Linked DNA regions of Homo sapiens: region 1 is linked to region 2. Evidence: promoter capture Hi-C in 16 types of primary human blood cells and fetal thymus (Javierre and others, 2016). All regions are on one chromosome and are shown on one strand. Each heading gives the region's core, a stretch centred on a gene start or on the middle of the fragment in contact. The rest is flanking DNA. Distances are from core to core; before and after follow the strand shown. Region 1 overlaps BICD1 (BICD cargo adaptor 1). Region 2 holds the start of RESF1 (retroelement silencing factor 1).

Evidence for each region. The method cuts DNA at HindIII sites, captures the fragments that hold promoters and counts their contacts. A CHiCAGO score of 5 or more calls a contact.
Region 1: a fragment that was not itself captured here is called in contact with the fragment with the promoter of RESF1 in region 2 in 1 of 17 cell types (naive CD4 T cells); the score reaches 5.2 in naive CD4 T cells.

Annotation. Positions count from the first base shown.
Region 1 is chr12:32,139,606-32,142,682 of GRCh38, reverse strand. The region is part of intron 1 of BICD1 (BICD cargo adaptor 1); the gene reads right to left. Among named protein-coding and RNA genes, the nearest start is that of BICD1-AS1, 34 kb to the right of the region's middle. RefSeq lists an enhancer at 2,688-2,737. The HindIII fragment of the contact is 1,571 bases long and covers 829-2,399 here.
Region 2 is chr12:31,957,505-31,960,672 of GRCh38, reverse strand. It overlaps RESF1 (retroelement silencing factor 1), which reads right to left and starts at 1,258. Exons shown (of 6, transcript NM_018169.4): 1 at 1,182-1,258. LOC105369725 (a long non-coding RNA gene) reads left to right here and starts at 1,369. Exons shown (of 2, transcript XR_931503.2): 1 at 1,369-1,545; 2 at 1,869-2,180. RefSeq lists a silencer at 948-1,287 and enhancers at 2,340-3,133, 3,137-3,168. The HindIII fragment of the contact is 2,403 bases long and covers 1-2,046 here.

The DNA.
Region 1 (3,077 bases), core at 365-2,864, 180 kb before region 2:
GCTTAGAAAACTAATGAAGCCCTCAAATATGGTGTGAGATCTCTTTATAAGAATGCTGCAAGAGTCAGATGTGAAGCGAAGGCTGTTGTAATATGCCTTTTTTATAGAAAAACAATCATGCTATAAATAACAATAAAGCATTTTTAATTTGAAAAATTAGTTGACTGCTATTTTTATCTAGATAGATAGACCAATAGATAGATAGATAGATAGATAGATAGATAGATAGGATAGATAGGTGGGGTTTTTTGTTTTTTTTTTTTTTTTTTTTTTTTTTAGACAGAGTCTCACTCTTTTGCCCAGGCTGGAAGTGTGGTGACACGATCTCAGCTCACTGCAACCTCTGCCTCCCAGGTTCAAGCGATTCTCCTGTCTCAGCCTCCCCAGTAGCTCAGAGTACAGGCGCCTGCCACCACACCTGGCTAATTTTTGTATTTTTAATAGAGACGGGGTTTCACCATGTTGGCCAGGCTGGTCTCGAACTCCTGACCTCTAGTGACCCGCCCACCTTGGCCTCCTAAAGTGCTGGGATTACAGGCCTGAGCCATCACGCCAGGCTGTCAATAAACTTTTATGTTGACATACTTCAATAGAGTTTCAGTCAATCCCTCTTTTCCCTCCCTAATTTTTCCTATTTGAAAAGAATCCGCTCTCTCCTGTTTTGTTCAGCAAAATGTAAAACATTGATAAGATTTATACCTTTTTGAAAAAAATAGACTATGGTTGAGCCCATACATTCGATGAACATTTGTTCGTCACCTACTATGTGCTAGGCTCTGGGGAGAAACAAAAACAAATGAAACAAGAATCACCAAGACTCAAGAAGCTTACAACGAACGGCGAATAAAAAGGCTAGAAAACCACTGGCTTCGGGAATCTGTGGTAAGTGCTATTCAAAATGGGTGTCCAGGCCAGGCGCGGTGGCTCACGCCTGTAATCCCAGCACTTTGGGAGGCTGAGGCGGATGGATCATTTAAGGTTAGGGGTTTGAGACCAGCCTGGCCAACATGGTGAAACCCCACCTCTACTAAAAATAGAAAAATTAGCTGGGCGTAGTGGCGGGCGCCTGTACTCCGAGCTACTCGGGAGGCTGAGGCAGGAGAATCGCTTGAACCCAGGAGGTGGAGGGTGCAGTGAGCCGAGATTGCACCACTGCACTCCAGCCTGGGCGACAGAGCAAGACTCCGCTCAAAAACAAAACAAAACAAAAAGTGTGTCCAAAGGAAGGGCCTCTAAATCAGATTTCTCATGGGGCATTAGAAATATAGAATTTTGTTTTTGCCATATTTTTCATACAATCTTAGCTTAATAACAAAAACACAAATTAGTCACAGGCAGTCATCAGGACAAAAAAAAATCAGAAATATAAATTCTGAATAAGCTATAAACTAGATAACAAGGCCTTGAATAATTCCATTTTCTTAACTTTAAGTTGATATCTAATAAGACAGGAGTGCAACATCGAAACGCTGTCTTGTTTGAATTATAAATCTTCACTTTAAAGCGGCAGATGGAGCGCCTTATGTTCACAGAAAGCAAGCCAAGGGCTCAGAAAAGGTAACCACTCCGCCAAAGGGAAAGACACAAAACAGAAAACATGGCTCTGAACTTATATGCCCTCGAAGGGTTAACAGATGCCTGAATTTGTGAGAATTTTACAGAATTAGAATGGAACTAGTACAAAGTCCTCCAATGTGTTTTCCTTTCTGGGTCATGCAAACACGTACGTTCTACGGAAGATTTCAAGTACAACAAAAAAATCCGGGTTTCCCATCACAGAACCTAAGTCGCCGCATTTCCTCTGGTGTATAACATGTTGTTGATGCAGTTATTGTCCTTTGTTTTTTTTTTAGCTCTGTTTCCTTAAATGCCAAAACTACACACACGAAGTATGTAATACGAACACTGTGACAATGAGGAGATGCAAGTAACATTTTATTCACCTGAAGAAACTAAACCCCAACATTTTGCTTTTTGTCTACAGACACAGTTCCTGTAAACACAGAATCAAATACGGTGCGCGTAGAAAATAAAAAGATCCTCCCACACTATGGCACTTCCTTCAATGGAGGCTACTCGGGAGGCTGAGGCAGCGAATTGCTTGAACCCGGGAGGCGGGGTTGCATTGAGCTGAGATTGCGCCACTGCACTCCAGCCTGGGCGACAGAGCGAGACTCCGTATCAAAAAACAAACAAAACAACAACAACAACAACAAACAAGATGTTGTATTCTTGACATTTAGGCATTTTCTAAAATATTACATTTTTTATAAAATTTCTCTGCCATGGAAAAAAAATCCACCTTTGCCAGAGCAAAGGAAGCCAGTGAAAGAAGTAATTCATTGGGAGTATAATTATAAGCATTTAGCATTGTTTTGAACATGAGAAAAAGGCAAGCTTTCATCTAACAGATTTTCATAATCTCAAGAAATAATTCATCTGCCATTTATTTTCAGGGAAATGTGGTGCTTCTTGGAAGAAGCCCAGAGGATCCTGCTGTTAAACCAAGACCCATGCAGGAAAAAAAAATTATCCACTCCACAATAACATGGCAGGTAACACAAAGGCAGTGGTACTTCTCCAGCCGGGAGAGGCCCCCTCAAAACAGGAACTCCTGCCGGCTGACTTAATTACAGCACAGCAAGGGAATCCACTACAAAGGCAGGAGCCACTGAACAGAGAGCTGCTGAGATCCGTCCTCGGTACACGGACAGATGGTTCTGCTGCTTCTCGGCTGGTATAAGACCTTATAGAAGACTCTGAAAACTGAAACACGCCAACAAGTTTTCTGTTACCAGTATTTTTTTTTTAACTCTGTGCCCAGGCCAGGAGCGGTGGCTCACGCCTGTAATCTCAGCGCTTTGGGAGGCCGAGGCGGGCGGATCGCGAGGTCAGGGGTTTGAGCATCCTGGCCAACATGGTGAAACCCCGTCTTTACTAAAAATACAAAAATCAGCTGGGCGTGGTGGCGCTTGTCTGTAGTCCCAGCTACTTGGGAGGCTAAGGCACGAGGAATCGCTCGAACCCAGGAAGAGGAGGTTGCAGTGAGCCGAGATTGCACCACTGCGCTCCAGCCT
Region 2 (3,168 bases), core at 9-2,508:
AGCATGCTAAGTTTACTGAATTCTTATTAAGTGTCCTAAGTAACAGAAATAGAAACTAGGTCTGGCCTGAAAATACCATTCACTTAAGTTAGAATTTATGTGCGCTCCTCTAGGTCCGCTATTGTAGTATCACTGCAAAACAATAATACTTTATCTCTGCACTTGTCTTTATTGGATTAATATTAAACAGAAAAAAATCCGACTGCACAGGGGAAAAAACCTAAAACCTTAACATGCATGCACATTAACAGTGACTGAAACATGATTAAAGCTAACACATTTAGCAGAAAAATGCAATCCCCAAACAAGCTCTGCGGCCCGCCTACTGAAATGCACCCGCCCGCCACTAAATGAAAATGCGCCTCAAGCTCATACACATCCTTATGTTAAGACAGTATGCACTCGATGTACTACAAATAAATTGTTTTCACGGAAATGATTCCCCGAAAGTTTGCTGCTGAACTCAGGACCCTAAGGACGTTTGCTTAGGGAATCCGTGTCCCTCGAGAACACCTAAGATGGGTATGCGTTTGTGCATTTAAAAATGCCTCAAGGAACTATTGCTGAGGAACAGAAACCATCGCCGGCGCAGAAGCGTTCGCGGACCACTTGGAGATAGATGCCAGTACAGCAATTCTGTTCCAGGAGGCTTCGGCTTAAGAGGGCCGGGGAGGAGGAGAACCCTCGGGAAATAGCAAAAAAAAAAAAAGATTTTTCTTTTTCACTCCAGCGACAGGAAAGCCTTAAAAACATAAGCAGCTCTCATACCCACCCGCCTCACCAGCCGCGCCTCGCAGTTCGACAAAATGCGTCCTAGCCTTCGCCACTCGCGACCTCTACCGCGCAGAGCCAGGCAATGAGGGAAAACAGCCAGCGAGGCCCGCCCTCCGGTGCAAGGCTCGGCATCCGCGGAGGCCCAGGGCCGGCCCCGGTGCGGCGGGCAGAAGCAAGCGCGGCGGCCCGGCCCAGCTCCGGTGGGCGGACGGCGGGACGCGCGAGCCGGCGGGGCCCGAGGCCCGGGTTCCGGGGCCGCCCGCGACTGCGTCTTTGCCGCAGAACAAAAGCGCTCTGCGCCGCGCGCAGGCCCGGACCGCGAGTGCCTCTGGCTCCCGGCTCCCGGCCCCCGCCCCGCCCGGACCCCGGAAGGCGGAGGGACCTCGGGGTGCTCGTCTCACACTTACCGACAAAGGGAAGAGGACCACCCCGGCAAGCGGGGAGAAAACCGGCGGCCTCCCGGGCCCCAGAGTTTAAGTCAAGTGGGGTCCGCCTCCAGGGGCGGGTCGAGGAGCCAGGCCCAGGATCCAGGAACAGCTACGCTCCGCCTCACGCCCGAGGCGGTGGCTGCGAGGGCCGCGCCGCCGCGGTCCTAGTGCCACCAGAGAAGCCGCGGACCCGGCCCGCAGATAACACCCGGGCTTGCAGAGCGCTTTCATCTGCCCGACGCGGAAATCTCCTGCAGCGATCTTCTACCTTCAGCGTGCATCCGCAGCACCCAGAGGGCACGTTAAAGAGAGATTGAGAACCACCAGCAAAACTGCTGATTCAGTAGGTTTGGGGTGGGGCTGAAAAATGTGCATTTCTAACAAGTTCCTGAGACCGACTGTTGCTGCTGGCCTCAGGACCAATTTTTTCTATAAAGCGCATGGAAGTCAGAGTGCACCCAAGAGATTGTTAACCCTTAAAAAACAGAAAAAAAAAAAAGAAATCAACAAGTTAGAGGCAAATAAGTGTGAAAGAAAGTGGATAGTCTATTTGGGGATTCTGAAAGTCCCTGAGGAAAGTTGACTTTGGAGACCAGATCACGAAGCACGACCTCTTAATTGCCGACCTTTTGTTATAGATTAACTCCCTTATTTTCTTGTTCCCAGCTCAGACCAGATGGCATCTGAGATAAAATACGCATTGAATAAGATAAATGACCGCTTGACTATTACATCCTTAATGTGGAATGTTAAATAGACCCTTCCCAAAAAGAAACACTGCCTTGAACCAATCAAATTGCTATGCGTTAACCTTCTATGGAAAATGTTGACATCCTGTTAAGCTTCCCAGACCCTGCCTGTGTAAACGACCCTCAAACTTCTCCCTTTCGAAGCACTGACCCCCATCTTTTGGAGTCTGTGTCCTACCGGGTCGCCATCCTCAAACTTTGCACTCAAATAAACCAATATTTAATCATATTGCCCGAATCTCATTATTAAGGTTTACGTAAGCGTTTACTTAGTAATGAAGGTTGCAACCAGGATGGCAAATCAGAGATTGTGCCACTGGAGAGGGGCAAGGGAGCTTATGTTTATAGGAATTTATTTGTTACATAAATTGTCAGATTAGTTCATTGGTGAATTAAACGAAGAAGTCTTTAGTCATTACTAGAAGAGTGCGTTTGCGTCTGTCAGAAACAAAACAAAAAAACTACATACAGAATATTCTTTCTTTTTTGGGGGGGGGACGGAGTCACGCTCTGTCGCCCAGGCTGGAGTGCAGTGGCACGATCTCGGCTCACTGCAAGCTCCGCCTCCCAGGTTCACGCCATTCTGCTGCCTCAGCCTCCCAAGTAGCTGGGACTACAGGCGCCCGCCACCATGCCCGGCTAATTTTTTGTATTTTAGTAGAGACGGGGTTTCACCATGTTAGCCAGGATGGTCTCGATCTCCTGACCTCTTGATCCGCCCGCCTTAGCCTCCCAAAGTGCTGGGATTACAGGCATGAGCCACCGCGCCCGGCCAGAATATTCTTAAAGATTGGGGGTGGCCAGGTGTGGTGGCTCAGGCCTGTAACCCCAGCACTTTGTGTCACGCGCATCCGTGTGAAGAGACCACCAAACAAGCTTTGCGTGAGCAACAAGACTGTTTATTTCACCTGGGTGCAGGCGGGCTGAGTCCGAAAAGAGAGTCAGCAAAGGGTGGTGGGATTATCTTTAATTCTTATAGGTTTTGGGAGAGGCTCCGCGGAACAATGTTTTGCGGGCAGGGGGTGGATCTCACAAAGTACATTCTCAAGGGTGGGGAGAATTACAAAGAACCTTCTTAAGGGTGGGGGAGATTACAAAGAACCTTCTTAAGGGTGGGGAGAATTACAAAGAACCTTCTTAAGGGTGGGGGAGATTACAAAATACATTGATCTGTTAGGATGGGGCAGAAACAAATCACAATGGTGGAATGTCATCAG